Regions from separate parts of the Homo sapiens genome. Here region 1 is linked to region 2. Evidence: promoter capture Hi-C in 16 types of primary human blood cells and fetal thymus (Javierre and others, 2016). All regions are on one chromosome and are shown on one strand. Each heading gives the region's core, a stretch centred on a gene start or on the middle of the fragment in contact. The rest is flanking DNA. Distances are from core to core; before and after follow the strand shown. Region 1 holds the start of RARS1 (arginyl-tRNA synthetase 1). Region 2 holds the start of SAP30L-AS1 (SAP30L and GALNT10 antisense RNA 1).

What was found. The method cuts DNA at HindIII sites, captures the fragments that hold promoters and counts their contacts. A CHiCAGO score of 5 or more calls a contact.
Region 1: the fragment with the promoter of RARS1 here is called in contact with the fragment with the promoter of SAP30L-AS1 in region 2 in 5 of 17 cell types (non-activated CD4 T cells, fetal thymus, monocytes and 2 more); the score reaches 11.6 in non-activated CD4 T cells.

Annotation. Positions count from the first base shown.
Region 1 is chr5:168,485,034-168,488,194 of GRCh38, forward strand. It overlaps RARS1 (arginyl-tRNA synthetase 1), which reads left to right and starts at 1,438. Exons shown (of 15, transcript NM_002887.4): 1 at 1,438-1,510. The coding sequence starts at 1,466. The HindIII fragment of the contact is 3,317 bases long and covers 1-2,713 here.
Region 2 is chr5:154,444,021-154,447,706 of GRCh38, forward strand. It overlaps SAP30L-AS1 (SAP30L and GALNT10 antisense RNA 1), which reads right to left and starts at 1,802. Exons shown (of 3, transcript NR_037897.1): 1 at 1,718-1,802. SAP30L (SAP30 like) reads left to right here and starts at 1,977. Exons shown (of 4, transcript NM_024632.6): 1 at 1,977-2,785. The coding sequence starts at 2,585. RefSeq lists enhancers at 1,601-1,720, 1,774-2,274 and silencers at 1,851-2,380, 2,511-2,620. The HindIII fragment of the contact is 8,481 bases long and covers 1-3,686 here.

The DNA of each region.
Region 1 (3,161 bases), core at 188-2,687, about 14 Mb after region 2:
GAGTGCTACTTTCTAAGTTCTGGAGTCATAGAGAAGAGTGAACAAGATAATTAAGGTCCCTGCCCTCTTAGAACATATATCCCAGGTTTGCTGTTTATAATTTTAACTCAATATATATACAATGAAATATTATTCAGCCTTATAAAAGAAAACCCTGTTATGGGTGACAACATAGATGAACCTGGAGAACATTATGTTGGTGCAATAAGCCGGGCACAGAAAGACAAATACTACATTAGCCCATGTATATGTGTAATCTAAAAAATTCAGATTCATAGAAGCAGAGCATAGAATGGTGGTTGTCAGGGCTTCAGAGGTAGGAAAGATGGGAGATGTTGCTCAAAGTTACAAAGTTTCAGTTAGGCGGGATGAATAGATTCTAGAGATGTAATGTATATTGTATACTTGCAGTTTTCGTTTTCGTTTCGTTTTGTTTGTTTTTAAATAGAGAGAGAAAAGGTCTCACTCTGTCATCCAGGCAGAGTACAGTGGCATGATCATGGCTCACCGCAGCCTCAAATTCTTGGGCTCAAGTGATCCTCCCACCTCAGCCTCCTATATACCAGGGACTACAGGCACATGCCACCATGCCCGGCTATTTTTCCATTTTTTTGTAGAGACGAGGTCTTAGCTGTTTCCCAGGATGAGAATAGATCTTAAATGTTCACAGCACACACGCGCGCGCGCGCGCGCGCACACACACACACACACACACATGCAAATGATAACTGTATGAGATGAAGGTTATGTTAATTATTTTGGTTGTGGTAATCATTTCAGAATGTATACATATATCAAAACATTACGTTGTACATCGTTATGATATACAATCTTTGTCAATTATACCTCAATAAAACTGGAAAAATAAATAAGATTTTAACTCAAATGTCACTTGCTTAGAGATGTCTTCTCTCACCCAAGTCACTCTATCACATTGCCTTCCTAGCAATTAAAACTACCTGAGATTATTGCCTTTTTTGGTCTATTTTCTCTCTCCATTCTAAAATGTGTCTGCCGTGAGAGGGGAGATCGTGTCTGTTTTGTTTTCTTTGTGCCCCCAGAGCCTAGAATACTGTCTGGCATTTTAAAGTACACAATAAATGTTTGTTGAATAAATGAATGGATTTGTTAGTTTTGTGCCCATTTCACAAAGGGGCAAAGTGAGGCCTTTGAGAGCCAGAAGCTCTAGGTCAGTGACTGTCCTAGTCTATCCAAGCACAGAGCAGCTCTGGTTAGTGTCTGCTCAATTCCTCTCCCCTCGCCCAAACGTCCCTGAGTTGCGGCCTCGCTCCTGACCGAAATCCCCGCGGGTTCTCCTCGCAGTGTCTACTGGATCCCGCCAGGAGGCAGCAGAGGCGCCAGCACCCAGTCCGACGGGACAGCGGACCGGAGGGGGTTTCCGCTTCCGGGAGAGGCTGACCGTTTCCGCTTCCGTCCACTTGGCGAGTGAGACGCTGATGGGAGGATGGACGTACTGGTGTCTGAGTGCTCCGCGCGGCTGCTGCAGCAGGTTTGGACGCAGGAGACCGGCGGGAAGGCCTGAAAGAGATGGAGCAGGCTCTGACTCCTGCCCAAGCGGCTTCGGGGGCGGGACAGCTAGGCGAGGACCATCCTGGTCCTCTCAGAGTGGAGCGGCACGGTCCCTGTGGGAACAGGAAGGGTTGAGAGAGGAAGCACCCATCATTTCAAAGCCCGTGTGACTGTGATTTTCAGCGGAATGGAGGGTCCCCACCCTCTCCCAGGCCTCCCCCAAACCAGCGTCTTCGGTGGGCTGGAGCCTGGCATGTTCAGAACAGTTCTCTCCCTACAATCCACCTCCTCTTCTGCATACACACGCGATTTAGGGGATGCGGGGAGATAGACAAGGGGGGAATACATTCAGAGCTCTGGGTCTTGGTTTGCAGCTCAGCCGCAGTTCTTCCCGGGTTACTGAGCGAGAGGATTCCTAATAAGCCCATGGGGTGATTCATTATCAGACCAGCGGAGCTTGCTCTGTGCCCTCAGCATTCGTCGGGAAGGAGCAGCCACACCATATAAAAGTGAAAGCGGCCGGGCGCGGTGGCTCATGCCTGTAATCCCAGCACTTTGGGAGGCCGAGGTGGGCGGATCACGATGTCAGGAGATCGAGACCATCCTGGCTAACACAGTGAAACTCCGTCTCTACTGAAAATACAAAAAAACTTAACCGGCTGTGTTGGGGGGGGTCCCTGTATTCCTAGCTACTCGGGAGGCTGAGGCAGGAGAATGGCGTGAACCCGGGAGGCGGAGCTTGCAGTGAGCAGAGAGCACACCACTGCACCACAGCCTGGGCGACAGAGTGAGACTCCGTCCCCCTACAAAAAAAAAAAGTGAAAGCGGAACAGTTCCATTACCTTTTATGCCCAGGTGGGGAGGGATGGTAGGAAGATAGTTCACAGTACTCTGTCCTGTTACGGCTGTATACTTAATCAGCAGTCACAAAGTACAAGTTAGTCAAGTAAATTGGCAAGCTCTTTACATTTCTGAGCCATTTATTTATCGGTATGTATTTATCTTTGCCTCACTTGGTTGTGATAATCATGAAGGTAATTTCTGAAAAGTGTTTTTAGCTCAGCTCCTGGAACATAATGTATGCTCATTTTTGGCAATTTGGTTTTGGCTGTAGCTATCTCCCAGTAAGTATTCTGAAATTTCAGGTGAGGAACTCCCCCTGAGTTTTGCAGTTTAAGTTGGAAGCTTTATTTCTTTCTGAATTGACATGTCTTTAGTTTTAGATGTTAAACTACAAAGCCTGGTCTGGTCTAGTCTAGGACCTAAGACACTGGAAACAGGAAGAAATGGGAAAATTGTTTAGTCCCAGAAAGGGTGAAAGGCAGACCCTTGAGCTATTTTGAATGTGACAAAGGACATTTGGGTTTTTTAAGAGTCCCAGGTCATAGGATTTGGGAATAAAAGCAGGTTGGTCAACCTGAAACTTAACTACTCTTGCTAAATCAGAGTGTTTATCGAGCCAAAGAAAAGAACTAGGGATATGAGACATGAGGCATATCCCATTATATACTTACTCCGATTCCTGTCTCCCAAAACACATGTATGTGTGGTTAATATATTCTTTTTCTTTTTCTTTTTTTTTGAAACAGAGTCTCGCTCTGTCAAGCAGACTGGAGTGCAGTGGCACGATC
Region 2 (3,686 bases), core at 552-3,051:
AGGGCAAGGGTTATGTTTCATCCTCCTCCTATAGCCAACCCTATACTTGGTATACATAATGAGTTCAACAACAATTTACTTTTGAACAGAATATATGAACTCTGAGGGAAGACTCCTATTAATCTGTGCCTTTTTTCCATTAATTTTTATTCTATTTTTTCTACTGTAAAAACAAAAATAATGCTTATTAAAGAAAATGCAAAGGTTAAACAAAAGGAGAAAAATATCAGCCATATTCCTGCTACCCAGAAATAATCACTGTTAGTACTTTGGTGCATTTTTTATACCAATAGTTTTCTTTTTTCTTTAAACATAGATGTACAGACATCGTATCCTCCATGCAATTTCATATCCTGAATTTTTTTACTTATCATAAAAAAAGCATTTCTCCAACTCCTCATCAGCTCTTTATTTAAGAATTAATGGTGAATTATTCTCTATAGAAAATGTTTACATTGATGTTGAAACTACCTCAAATGCTAACTGCACAATCTCTTTCTGAAGATTTTAGGTAGTTTACTTAACCACTTCCCTTTTGGAACTCTGAGGTTCTATTTTATTTTTCCTATTATAAATAATTCCATAATGAACATCACTGTACTTCATATTATCTCTGATAGGCCTATTTCCGACGATGGCTGTCCCACGTGTGAAATTACCAGTTCAGATGCTACAAATGCATTTATGGCCACTGAGCAAAACTTAAGATCACCAGCCACCTGCTTCTAAACATGGAAACTGGTAGCTTTCCCTTTTACAACAGGACACAAACCCGAAGCTCCTTCTATGCCCTCTAGTACTAACACTTGCTTACCTATCACCTAACACAGCCTCCCCTCTTCCCTGCCCATAAAACGCTGCCCAGCCCTACATAATTACACGACCCTGGGCTGGTCCCATCGCCTTTCGGACCTCATCAGTCCCCATGCTGCGCAGTTGGAGAGTGGCATGACTGAAGTGCTGGACCAGAGCATATCCTACGGCCCCTCCTGGAGGGGAGGTGGTGCCCTGGGCGCCGAAACCAAGCGCAGGGTCTTGGCAGGGCGCAGTCGCTTCGCCGGTAGACCCGGGGACTCAAAGCAATAGAACTACAGCTTGGAGCTCCAGGGAGAGCCCAAGACACCGCAGCCCTTCCCCATCTAGATTCCGAGATTGGCCCCTGGGCCCCACTCCCAGCCTTCACTTCATCTCCCCTGAAGCCCTTTCTCTTGCCCGCGGCTCACCTAGTCCACCCTCCAGACCTCATTCGGACTTCCCATTCTTCCCAGTGGAGGGGTCGCCCAAACCCCTCGGGGTCTCCTTTCCCCCTCTCCTTTTCTTTCCGCGCCGTCCAAGCCAGTCCCACTCTCCACACTCTGGAAGGTATCGGCTACCCCCAATATTGCGACTGCCTTGCAAGATCCCCCCATCACCTCCTCCGCATGTCTTTCCACGTATCTGTATGGGGTTGTCCCTCTGTCTTTCCCGCCATGACTGGCTTTCCGTCCTATTTCACCCACCCTTCCTCCCACGGATCCGCGAGTCCTCTGGCCCTGGCCCTTTCATTTTATTAGTCCGCCCCTCTCCTGATAGCACCTCTATCCTCTTTAGGTCCCCTCATATGCCCCTCCTCCAAGTCTGTCCCTCAGCGTCCCCGTCCGCGTCTCTACTGTCTGTCCCCGAATGTGTTCCTCTGTTCCTGGAGTCTGGCCCTCGGTCCAGCCAGGCCCCTGCTCACCATCCCTCCCCCGGGCCGGAGAGTCTGCAGCCCGGTTCCCGGTTCTCGCTGGGGTAACTCTTTCCTCTTCCACTTTCTCTACTTTGAACCCATCCCAGCAGAGTCCAGGAAGTAGCCTGGCGCCGGAGACTGGCGGCGGCGACGCCCAATGGGACGCGCCAGCGGCGGCGGCAGCCCCGCCCAGAGAGCAAATGAGACCAATGGTCGCGTGAAGGCGGGACTTCCGCTGTCCCGCGAAGGGCGGGGGGAGCGAACTGTTGTGGTGCGGAGCGTTCGGCGGGCGGCGGCCGGGCGGCCCAGGGGCTGCCGCGGGACTCGGGGCGCAGCCGAGTGGCTGCAGGGGTGGAGTGGGCCGGACGAGCCGCGGGGCCCGGGTGCCGCGGGTTCGAGGCCGGGCCCCGCGCGAGGAGGCCGCGCCACCCCGGGGGAGCTGCCCGGCAGCGAGTTTGCCCCGCTGCCGAAAGAAGGCGGGAGCCGGCAGGGGCCTTCGAAACCCCCTGGCAACCCAGGCCCGGAGTCCTTGGGGAGCGGCTGTTTCCTGGGACGCCCTCCCGGACACCCCCGCTGCAGGGTTACGGTTCTGGGCCCCCGGCAGAAGGCTCCTCCGGGTGACCCCCGGCGGGGCCCTGCGAGCCGCGGGAGCCGACCCCGGGGCCTCGAGCCGGGAGGAAGGGGGCTTCCGGAGGCGGAGGGCCGGGGGCCGAGGGAGCCGGGCCTCTCGGACGCGGGGCAGGGCAGCGCCCGGGCTGGAGACGGACTCTGGGACCCTCGGCTGCGGGGGTCTCAGCGACCTGCCCCGCGGCAAGCGCGGCCGCGGAGTGGCCTACCGGGGACCCTCCCCCAGAGGGACCGGCCCGGGGCGGGGAGATGAACGGCTTCAGCACGGAGGAGGACAGCCGCGAAGGGCCCCCCGCCGCCCCAGCTGCCGCCGCCCCGGGCTACGGCCAGAGCTGCTGCCTCATCGAGGACGGCGAGCGCTGCGTCCGGCCCGCGGGCAACGCCTCCTTCAGCAAGAGGGTCCAGAAGAGCATCTCGCAGAAGAAACTCAAGCTGGACATCGACAAGAGCGTGAGTCCGCCCCCGCTCGCGTCTGGGCCCCGGCGCCCCCAGCTCTCCGTCCGCTGCCCTGGGCTCCAGTCGGGACTCCCCGGGCACTCCCCGCCGTGGGCCTCGCCGCCCCGGCTCTGCAGAACTGAGTTGGACTCCGCATTTCAAAGGCCGCTCCAGCGCTGACATGCTCTGACTGTGATTCTACCCAGATCCGGGAGGATGGGGGCGGGGGCTTCAGGACTCCTGCTGCCTGGAAAGATTGGACAGCAGTTTCCAACTTGTTTTATTGGTTTAGACTTTAGAGCAGGGAGAGGTGGGTTAGTTTTGTTGGCCCTTGAAGGAGCAAGAATCGGAGCGGGGAGTGATGAAGATACCCGGCTCTTTTCCAACTTCTCTCTCCTTCTAGGAACCCTGTTATTCCTTCAGACAGAGAAAGGTGGCAGTTACTTCCCTGGCTCCCGCATCCTCGGTATCAGCAGAGGGTCACCGAGCTAGCTGCTTCGCAGGCAGCTGTGGGAATGGGTTTTTCTAGGATGTGGCAGAAATAAGGCCAAGGCCAGGTCTTGAGAAATGGCTCTTGCAGTCGATGTGACTGGAGGGGGGAAGAAAAGAAATCAATTTTCTTAGTGGTAGTTTCTTTTGAAATAAGGGGGTGGATATTTAAATTTAAATCGGATTGCCCTGCTCTTTGTGGCTTATTATAGGAAACTCCTCCCGTGTGACTTCACCACTTCTAGTTAACAATTCTGAAGCTGTGCCTATTGTCAACCAATTAAGAACTTTTTAGTTTGACATCTGTTGCTACAAGCCTTAAGTGATTGCTTCATGATTAGGAATTGGAAATGAGTTAAGGGGATATTTAATATTCAGGTAGACTAGCTAAGAGCTTAGGTGGTTAACATCCATTCTCTTCTAGAAT